2 separate regions of the Homo sapiens genome follow, and region 2 is linked to region 1. The links are contacts of gene promoters, found by promoter capture Hi-C in blood cells and fetal thymus (Javierre and others, 2016). All regions are on one chromosome and are shown on one strand. Each heading gives the region's core, a stretch centred on a gene start or on the middle of the fragment in contact. The rest is flanking DNA. Distances are from core to core; before and after follow the strand shown. Region 1 holds the start of NT5C (5', 3'-nucleotidase, cytosolic). Region 2 holds the start of MRPL58 (mitochondrial ribosomal protein L58).

Evidence for each region. Contacts are between HindIII fragments. The CHiCAGO score rates a contact against its expected background, and 5 or more counts as called.
Region 2: the fragment with the promoter of MRPL58 here is called in contact with the fragment with the promoter of NT5C in region 1 in 1 of 17 cell types (endothelial precursors); the score reaches 5.0 in endothelial precursors.

The regions. Positions count from the first base shown.
Region 1 is chr17:75,129,725-75,134,641 of GRCh38, reverse strand. NT5C (5', 3'-nucleotidase, cytosolic) reads left to right here and starts at 2,900. Exons shown (of 5, transcript NM_014595.3): 1 at 2,900-3,108; 2 at 3,361-3,461; 3 at 3,537-3,597; 4 at 3,775-3,889; 5 at 4,000-4,414. The coding sequence starts at 2,935. The coding sequence ends at 4,154. ARMC7 (armadillo repeat containing 7) reads right to left here. Exons shown (of 3, transcript NM_024585.4): 3 at 4,370-4,917. RefSeq lists silencers at 2,738-3,307, 3,677-3,881 and an enhancer at 3,918-4,007. The HindIII fragment of the contact is 6,056 bases long and covers 1-4,825 here.
Region 2 is chr17:75,010,481-75,015,397 of GRCh38, reverse strand. MRPL58 (mitochondrial ribosomal protein L58) reads right to left here and starts at 2,728. Exons shown (of 6, transcript NM_001545.3): 1 at 2,526-2,728. The coding sequence starts at 2,711. RefSeq lists enhancers at 1,718-2,400, 2,421-2,500, 2,551-2,860, 2,401-3,084, 2,951-3,100 and a silencer at 2,753-2,935. The HindIII fragment of the contact is 1,964 bases long and covers 1,894-3,857 here.

The DNA of each region.
Region 1 (4,917 bases), core at 1,651-4,150:
ACCAGCTAGGTGTCCTCCAATTTTTTTTTTTTTTTAAGACAGTGTCTCAGTCTGTCGCCCAGGCTGAAGTGCAGTGGCACAATCTGCTCACTGCAACCTCTGCCTTCTGGGTTCCAGCGATTCTCCTGCCTCACCCTCCCGAGTAGCTGGGACTACAGGCATGTGCCACCACACCCAGCTAATTTTTGTATTTTTAGTAGAGACAGGGTTTATGCCATGTTGCCCAGGCTGGTGTCGAACTCCTGACCTCAAGTAATCTGCCCACCTCGACTTCCCAAAGTGCTGGGATTATAGGCATGAGCCACCTCACCTGGCCCTCCAATTCAATTCTGACAATCAGTTACCTGGAGATAGCTTTGATTCCACAAGTTGAGGGCTCAGCCCCCAAGACTGCTTCCCCTTGAGATAACTCGCAAGTCTGGGCCTCCAAAATGTCTGCGTATCTATGAGTCATATGCATGTTGACTTGAGCCCCTCTTAGACTGGTTTGTCAGGCTTTTTTTTTTTCTGAGATGGAGTCTGGCTCTGTCACCCAGGCTGGACTGCAGTGGCATGATCTTGGCTCACTGCAACGTCTGTCTCCCGGGTTCAAGCAATTCTCCTGCCTTGGCCTCCTGAGTAGCTGGGATTTGTAGGCATGTCCCACCATGCCCGGCTAGTTTTTGTATTTTTAGTAGAGATGGGGTTTCACCATGTTGGTCAGGCTGGTCTCGAACTCCTGACTTTGTGATCCACCTGCCTCGGCCTCCCAAAATGCTGGGATTACAGGCGTGAGCCACTGCACCCGGCCCTGTCAGGTTTTTTTGTGTGTGTGATGCTTCTATTACATGTTTTGTTTGTTTGTTTGTTTGAGACGGAGTCTCGCTGTGGCCCAGGCTGGAGTGCAGTGGCGTGGTCTTGGCTCACTGTAATCTCTGCCTCCCGGGTTCATGCCATTCTCCTACCTCAGCCTCCTGAGTAGCTGGGACTACAGTCACCCGCCACCATGCCCAGCTAATTTTTTTTTTTTTTTTGTATTTTTAGTAGAGACAGGGTTTCACCGTGTTAGCCAGGATGGTCCTGATCTCCTGACCTCATGATCCGCCCGCCTCAGCCTCCCAAAGTGCTGGGATTACAGGCGTGAGCTACCGTGCCCAGCCTCTGTTACATATATTTGGAAGCAGTGGGTTCATCAGATGGGGAACAATGGCGAGATGGGCCACTTAAATCTGTGTTTATAATTTTGGCTCTCCCCTCCCCCAACAGGGACTCCCTCTGTCACCCAGGCTGGAGTGCAGTGGCAGGATGAAGGCTGTGTAGCCTCAATTTCCTGGGCTCAAGGGTTCCTCCCACCTAAGGCTCATGAGTAGCTAGGACCACAGGCATGCGCCACCATACCCAGCTTATTGATTTGTTTATTGTAGAGACAGGGTCTCCCTGTGTTGCTCAGGCTGGTCTTGAACTCCTGGGCTCAAGCTGTCTCCCACCTGGGCCTCCCAAAGTGCTGGGATTACCAGCCTGAGCCACGGCGCCTGGCTTTATAGTTTGTAGGCAAATAGATTTGAGTGGAGTCAGGAAGTTTCATGACATCCACAAAAAGAAGAGTCAACAAAATGTATCACAGTTCAGCATGTTCTTTTTTTTTTTTTTTTTTTTTGAGAAGGAGTTTTGTTCTTGCTGCCCAGGCTGGAGGGCAATGGCATGATCTCGGCTCACCGCAACCTCTGCCTCCTGGATTCAAGAGATTCTCCTGCCTCAGCCTCCCGGGTAGCTGGGATTACAAGCATGTGCCACCACGCTAATTTTGTATTTTTAGTAGCGACAGGATTTCTCCATGTTGGTCAGGCTGGTCTTGAACTCCCGACCTCAGATGATCCGCCCGCCACGGCCTCCCAAAGTGCTGGGATTATAGGCGTGAGCCACCGCACCTGGCCCTGTTCAGCATTTTCTAGACGGGAGTAGGTAAGCGATGTCAGTTCCACATAAAGTCCTGAGGACAGTCCTGATTACCTGTGCTTGATCAAAATCATCTTTCCGGGGGAAACCACACTTGAAGCTCCCATGTTTCAAGCCAACTCTAGTGTGAATTAGTCTCTTAACGAGCTAGACTTACACAAACCAGTTAACAGATTCATTTCACTTTGTAGTCCTCGAGGGATTGTTCCTGCTCCACTGCACAGACGAAAGCAATCCACTGAGACCACGGTACTGCGGTAATAAGACTTTGGCCAGGTGCGGTGGCTCAAGCCTATAATCCCAACACTTTGGGAGGCCAAGGCAGGCAGATCACTTGAGGTCAGGAGTTTGAAACCAGCCTGACCAACATGGCGAAACCCCGTCTCTACTAAAACTACAAAAATTAGCCAGGCGTGGTGGCGGGTGCCTGTAATCCCAGCTACTCGGGAGGCTGAAGCAAGAGAATCGGTTGAACCCGGGAAGCGGAGGCTGCAGTGAGCCGAGATCGCGCCGCCACTGCGCCGCAGCCTGGGCGACAGAGCCAGACTCCGTCTCAAAATAAAAAAAAAAAAAAAGAAAAAAAGAAAAAAAATGTGGAGCTAGCCCCACGGGTTTAGGACCCTTGACTCCTCGTTAGATGCTTCCCAGTATTTCAGAGCATCCCTTTGTTGGGCCCCCGGAAGGTCGGTCCCCTACTAGTAACGTGGGGTGAACGGGGGTACGTCTGCCGTAAAGTGGGAGGCGGCTGATGGGGACAAAGGCTGGGTCCCGAAGAAGCGCAGGGTCAGAAAAGTGCCCCCCAAAGCCGTCCCTGCACCCGAACCCTAGGATGGCCTCGCGCAACCGCAGGGCCGTCGGCACTGGTTTACGACCTGGGCGGGGCGGCCCGGACACTCTATGCAAATCAGCCCGGCGGACTCCGGAAGCAGCGCTCCCTCCGCTTCCGGCCGAGCCCGCGCCCCCCAGACCCCGAGAGCTCGCAGCTCCGGCCCGGCGGCGATGGCGCGGAGCGTGCGCGTGCTGGTGGACATGGACGGCGTCCTGGCCGACTTCGAGGCCGGCCTCCTGCGGGGCTTCCGCCGCCGCTTCCCTGAGGAGCCGCACGTGCCGCTGGAGCAACGCCGCGGCTTCCTGGCCCGCGAGCAGTACCGCGCCCTGCGGCCCGACCTGGCGGTAGGGGGCGCAGGGTCCCCACCCGGGCAGGGCCCGCTCGCTCCGTTCCGGGGGTCTCCCCCTTCTCTGTGAAGGGCGCAGAGCTCTCACCCTGGAACCCGCGGGCAGCGCACCCTGGGGAGGAGCCTTTGGGCGCGTGCCCCTGACCGACGCCCCCTCCGCCCCTCTGAGCTCGGGCCCGGAGCCCCCAGGAGCCTCCCTGCGGGTCCTCGCGGGAACGGGAAGCCGGGACCCAGAACTCTTGTCTTTCAGGATAAAGTGGCCAGTGTGTACGAAGCCCCGGGCTTTTTCCTGGACCTGGAGCCCATCCCGGGAGCCTTGGACGCTGTGCGGGAGATGAACGACCTACCGGAGTAAGGAGAGAGGGGGGCGGGCGGAGTCCTGGGCGGGCTCCTGGCTCCCGGCGGTAACCGCGTCCTTCTCCGCAGCACGCAGGTCTTCATCTGCACCAGCCCCCTGCTGAAGTACCACCACTGTGTGGGTGAGAAGGTGTGGCTGCCCCGCCCCTACTCCGCACGTGGAGCTGCCTAAATCCTGATTTTAAAAAGAAACCACCAGAAACCCAGAAGGTGGGGGTGGGGGGCTCTCAAGGGCTTAGAGCCAAGTCCCTATCCCTGAATTCCGGCTTCCATCAGGCCCTACTCACAGACTGTGTTTTCTACACAGTACCGCTGGGTGGAGCAGCACCTGGGGCCCCAGTTCGTAGAACGAATTATCCTGACAAGGGACAAGACGGTGGTCTTGGGGGACCTGCTCATTGATGACAAGGACACAGTTCGAGGTTGGACCCGTTATCCTTGGCAGCCTCCAGGCCTCTGGCCTGCCCGGATTAGGGAGAGGGAGTAATAATACCCATGACAGATGGCAGCGCGCTGTCTTTCACTGTCCTAGGCCAGGAGGAGACCCCAAGCTGGGAGCACATCTTGTTCACCTGCTGCCACAATCGGCACCTGGTCCTGCCCCCGACAAGGAGACGGCTGCTCTCCTGGAGTGACAACTGGAGGGAGATCTTAGATAGCAAGCGCGGAGCTGCGCAGCGGGAATGAGCGGGGATGCCGCGGGCAGCAGCTGGAGCTAAAGGAAGGGCAGGCCCACAGGGGCCACCGCAGAGCCGAGTCGGGGCGGCATCGTGCTGGTGCCTCTGGCCCCGTGGAGTGGAGCAGGCAGATACCGTTAAGCGCTGTGCTACCGGGCCCCAGGCCCAGCCACCCGGTACCTCCCGAGAGGCTGTCCCTGGACCCTGGCTGGCATGGAAATACAGTGGGAAAACCAGTCGGGACCTTTAATAAAAGACCTTGGCTTTCTAGTCTTCTAGGACCCTTTATTTGGGAACATAAAGGGACAGGCTCCCTGAGCGGGTGCTGATGAGCCCTTCCCTCCCCTCTGAGTCCAGTGGTCCCCTAATCTGCCCCATTTCCATGCCCACGTGGGTACCATTTTTGTAGCACCTGCCATTCCTGGGCCATCTAAGGGGTCAGCCTTGAGGGGGTACACGAGAGGCAAGGACCCCCATTTTCCCTGAGCTCCACCTTTCCATCGGATCCCACGCTCCTTATGTTGACCAGGGGGCACCATGGACATGGAGCCACATCCTTTACGTTGCCGTCTCTTCCTGACTCCCTTGAGCAACACTCACTGCGTCCCTGATGCCCTCGTGGGATACACTTCTGGGGTAGGGCTCCCCATCATTGAGTGACAGCAGAGGAGGGCCGAAGCTTTCAGCCGGGGCCATGGGGTGGCAAGGGGAGAAGATGCAGTTACCAGGGCTGGTGCCTCTATTCCGACGTATCATCACCTGCATGGCCTTGT
Region 2 (4,917 bases), core at 1,479-3,978, 120 kb after region 1:
ATTCTCCTGCCTCAGCCTCCTGAGTAGCTGGGACTACAGGCGTGTGCCACCACGCCCGACTAATTTTTGTATTTTTAGTAGAGACGGGGTTTTGCCATGTTGGCCAGGCTGGTCTCGAACTCCTGACCTCAAGTGATCTACCCTTGGCCTCTCAAAGTGCTGGGATTATAGGCATGAGCCACTGCGCCTGGCCAGAAAATAGCCTGTTTTTGACACCCAACTTTCTGGCTCAAACTCAAACCTTTCTTCTCAACTCCACACCCATATACCCAACTGCTACTCAACGTCTCTTCTCAGATGTCTAATGGACCCAAACCTTAAGCCGCCTCAGAGGACTTCCCTTACTAATAATCTGAGGTAGCCTCAGCACTTTGTTGCAGCACCCTGGCCTATTCATTACACTACTTCTCACTACCTGATATTTTCCCTATTTGTTTACTGTCTGCTCCTTCCATTAGAATTAAGCTCCATGAAGGAGAGAGATCCTGTATTTTGTTTATCATGGCTGTATATGCTAGACTCAAGTAGTAGTAGACACAGTAGATATACAATAAACATTTTATTGAATGAATGAACAAATGAATGCTATTGCCACTCTCTCATCTCAGTTAATAGCAACTCAATCCTTTCACTGCTCAAGGCCCCAGACTTGGCTGGGCATGGTGGCTCACGCCTGTAATCCCAGCACTTTGGGAGGCTGAGGCGAGCAGATCATTTGAGGTCAGGAGTTTGAGACTAGCCTGGCCAACATGGTGAAAACCCTGTCTCTACTAAAAATGCAAAAATATGAGTCGGGCATGGTGGTGCATGCCTGTAATCCCAGCTACTCGGGAGGCTGAGGCACAAGAATCACTTGAACCCAGGAGGCGGAGGTTGCAGTGGGCTGAGATCACGCCACTGCACTCCAGCCTGGATGACAGAGTAAGACCCTGTCTCAAAAAAAAAAAAAAAAAAAAGCCTGGCGCGGTGGCTCACGCCCGTGATCAAGACCAACCTGGCTAATACGGTGAAACCCCCTCTCTACTAAAAAAAAAAAAAAAAAAAATTAGCCGGTTGTAGTGGTGGGCGCCTGTAGTCCCAGCTACTCAGGAGACTGAGGCAGGAGAATGGCGTGAACCCGGGAGGCGGAGCTTGCAGTGAACAGAGATTGCATCACTGCACTCCAGCCTGGGCGACAGAGTGAGACTCCGTCTCAAAAAAAAAAAAAAAAAAAAAAAAGGCCCCAGACTTCAATTCCTCTTTTATTCTCACTTCTCACATCCAATCAATTAGCAAATCTTGCAGGCTTTCTTTCCAAAATACGTCTAGGATCTGACCAATTCTCATGACTCCTACTGCTTCCACCCTGCTTATCATCTCTTGCCCTACATTGCAATCTCCTTACTTGTCTCCCTGATCTTGGCATCCTCTATCTGTTCTCTGTAAGGCTCTCTGAGTGATCCTTGTAAAACTAAGATAATTCCATTCTGCTTCAAGCTCTCCAATAGGTCTCCCTTGCGTTCAGAGGAAAGGCTGGAGGCCATTAAGTCCTAGTAACAGGCCTTTCCCCAGCCATCCCTCTCTTTGGCTTTGTCTCCTGACCCCTGCTGAGCCACACCTGGGGATTGCTACTGCCTTCAGGTTATTGCACTTTCTCTTCCCTCTGCCTAGGATGCTCATCCGCCCCCTATTCTCATGACTTGCTGTCTGGCTTCTTCCAGGTCGTTATTCAAATGCCACCTCATTGACAGCGTTCCTAGACAATCCTACTTAAAATTGCAACCCTACTTCCTACCTCTGGCACTACTTCTTCCTTCTTGGCTTTATTTTCTGCAAAGTACTACCTCACACATTCTATATTAGTCATTTACTTACTGCTTGTCTCCCTCCACTAGAACATAAGCTCCACAAGCTTTAGAATTTCAATTTTGTTTGCTACTCCATCCCCTAGCCTAGCACAGCTTTTGTTGAGTGAGTGAGTGAATTAATGAACAAATGAATGGATATTCTTTTCCAGTCCTGTAAGTGGAAGCTCAATGGGTTTGGGTGGGTCTTATCTCTCTTGCTCCGGGGCTTGATTCAATGCCTGCACACAGCTGGCTAAATAAATGCATCCTGAAGGAACGACAGAGAAGCTGTTTTATTCGCGCGTCCTGGGGTTACTAGAGACAATGGACACTGTAACGTCCCAAAGGGTAGCAAACAACTTGGCAGCCTCTTGCCTTTATTGTCCGCCTTGGAGGGCCAGAATGCCCGTATTTCCCCTTGGGACTGGAATTTGGTCTTGAGGGCCAAGGACACGAACGTAGAAAAGCTGGCAGCCTTGAAAGAAGCATACCCAGCCGGCCTTCCGGGCTCCTGCACATCTCGCGCTACAGCGAGCACCCCACTCCCGGCCAGGTTAGCGCAGACAGCCAGCCCCCTCCCGCGGCGACCATCACGTAGCCCCCCGACGTAGCTCCACATCCGGCCAATGGGCCTGGGGTTCCTAACGTCACCCAGCAGCCTGACAAAACGCCCCTTCCGTCCAGTCCTTCCCGGCTCACCGGGACCCTCCAGGCGGTGTCCGAGCCCTGAGATTCGGGGTAGAGCTTGTCCAGGCTGTAGATGCTCTTGAACTCAGTGCCGTCTTTCTGCTTGTGCAGCGCCCGGCGTGGGCACCGTGCGGGCGGTGGGAGCAGCCAGACTCCGGCTCGGCTCAGGCCCCAGCGCAGGCACCTGGTGGCCGCCATGCTCAGGTCTTGCGACTGCTTCCGGCGGGCGCTTCCTCCCCGCGGTCCGCAAACTCGAGCCGCCCTCGAGCTTTGGTTCCGCGCAGTTTCTAGGTCCCGCCGAGGGGAGGCGGCAAACTGGGGTCCCGCCGATGCTTTCTGGCCGGCCGCCTCCGGGAGGCCTGGTTGGCTGGGGAAGACGGTGGCCAGAGAGCGAGCTGCTACCGGAAGAGTGCCCCGATCTTGTGGCCCCCAGAAACACCACTTCTCTCCTTTCAGAGTCCGTGCCCTCCGCCTGGACCGCCCACTGCCCAATTCAAACAGCAGCGAGGCCTGCCCGGCCAGCCTGGGGCATCTCCCGCCCCGCGCTTCCCAGCCCCTTTACTCTGCTCTAATTTATCTTTTTTCTCTTCCTTTACAAAAATCACTCAGTCCTAATTGTCTAATTGCTGTCTCCTAGCCGGAATGTGAGCTCCAGGAGGGCACCGGCTCACTGGTATATCCCCAGCACCCAGAACATGGCACATCGTGGGCACCCCATGAGTACTGATAAAATGAATTCTGTAGGAATGTACTTTTGAAAGTTGGGTTCTGGTAGAGCTGAGTTTTAGGAACGCCAGGCTCTTTTTACAAGGCAGCCTATGAGCAAATTCCCCGCTGAGCACGTGTGTGTACTGGCTTATACCCAGCAGCTCTGCAGGACAAATACCAGATGGGAGGAGAAGGCAGGCCACCGAAAGAAATGTTTGCAAAACCTGGAACATCGTCCCCCGCCCTTCAGCTTTATGGAGCAAGATGATGCTTTCTTCCAGCCAGGAGAGAGGGGGTCCCTCGGGAGGTAGGGAGAGAATTCAGAGAACTGCCAGCTAACTAGAACCCTTTCATAGCGCTGGTAAGGGATGAACTACAGACAAGTTCCAATTCTGAAAAAGGTTCACAGTAGAGCAAGCAGTGTTTGAAAACAGCTAAACCTTAGTTAAGTTACTGTGTTGAGAGGCTATGTGGTAAATGGAAACAAAGCTAAATAAATGTTCATAATTATTAGTAATGCTAGCGATTGTTTCTTAATGAAGAGTTCTATTTTTAGGAACAAGCATAATTATCTAGAAAAATGTGCCCCCGGGGATGCTGGCTGATTGAAACAGGAGATTGTCATCACACCAAGCTTTTACCATCTCCGCATTATGGCTACAGCAAATCTTTAAGAAGGAATAAACCACTTTCTAAGCACTGGCTTTATAAGCTCAGACTAGAAAGGGGTGACAATTGACATATCTCGGGCTCTATCTCGGGTTGGGAGGAGAGTCTCCTGGGTCCCGCGCTGTTTGACTTAGTCCCAAGACCTCAAAGGGAATAGACGCATCTCTATGGCAACTGGAATAAGCTGCTCAGAGGAGCAAAACCAGGCATTCACTCAGGTCGGGGGCTAAGGGGTTATGAGTAATAAAGTCAGAACCTTTCCATGACATCATTGCTCTGAGGCTGGGCTCCAGCTCTGCACCTGACCCAAGGCAATAGGAAAAGGAAGCTGCAGGTTTCCATGGCCCCAAATAAACACAGCCTGCTTGGGCCATCTGGTGGCCTGGATTCTGGGAGAGGAGGTGGGTAGAGGAGAGAATGAGGCAAGCCGCCCTGGGGTGGAGAGAGGAGCAGCTGGCAAGCTCCTCTTACCTGCTGCTGCCGTGAACTATCCAGAATGGGGGCCCTGGGAGAAAGGCCAGAAAGGGGCCACCTGTTCTCCCAAAAAGATGGGCACTAAAGGCTGAGGCCAGTCTTCCCTTTCTCCTCCTTGGTTTTCTATAGGCCGAGATGGTGCTTCAGGGAGGGGACATTCATGGGAGAAGAGAGGAAAGAGGTCATTTCTGGCAGCTGAGGAGCTTGCAGACACAAGCCTTTCTATAGGGCCTATGAGTTGGGGTACTATTCCTATGTAGGGGGTCCTACATAGGACCTACATAGGACCCCTTTCTTCTTCTCTGTACCGCCCTGGGTCAGAAGACCTCCTTTTTTTTTTTTTTTTTGAGATTGACTCTCGCTCTGTTGCCGAGGCTGGAGTGCAATGGCACGATTTCAGCTCACTGCAACCTCTGCCTCCTGGGTTCAAGTAATTCTCCTGCTTCAGCCTCCCGAGTAGCTGGGACTACAGGCGTGCACCACCATGCCCGACTAATTTTTGTATTTTTAGTAGAGACGGGGTTTCACCATGCTGGCCCGGCTGGTCTCGAAC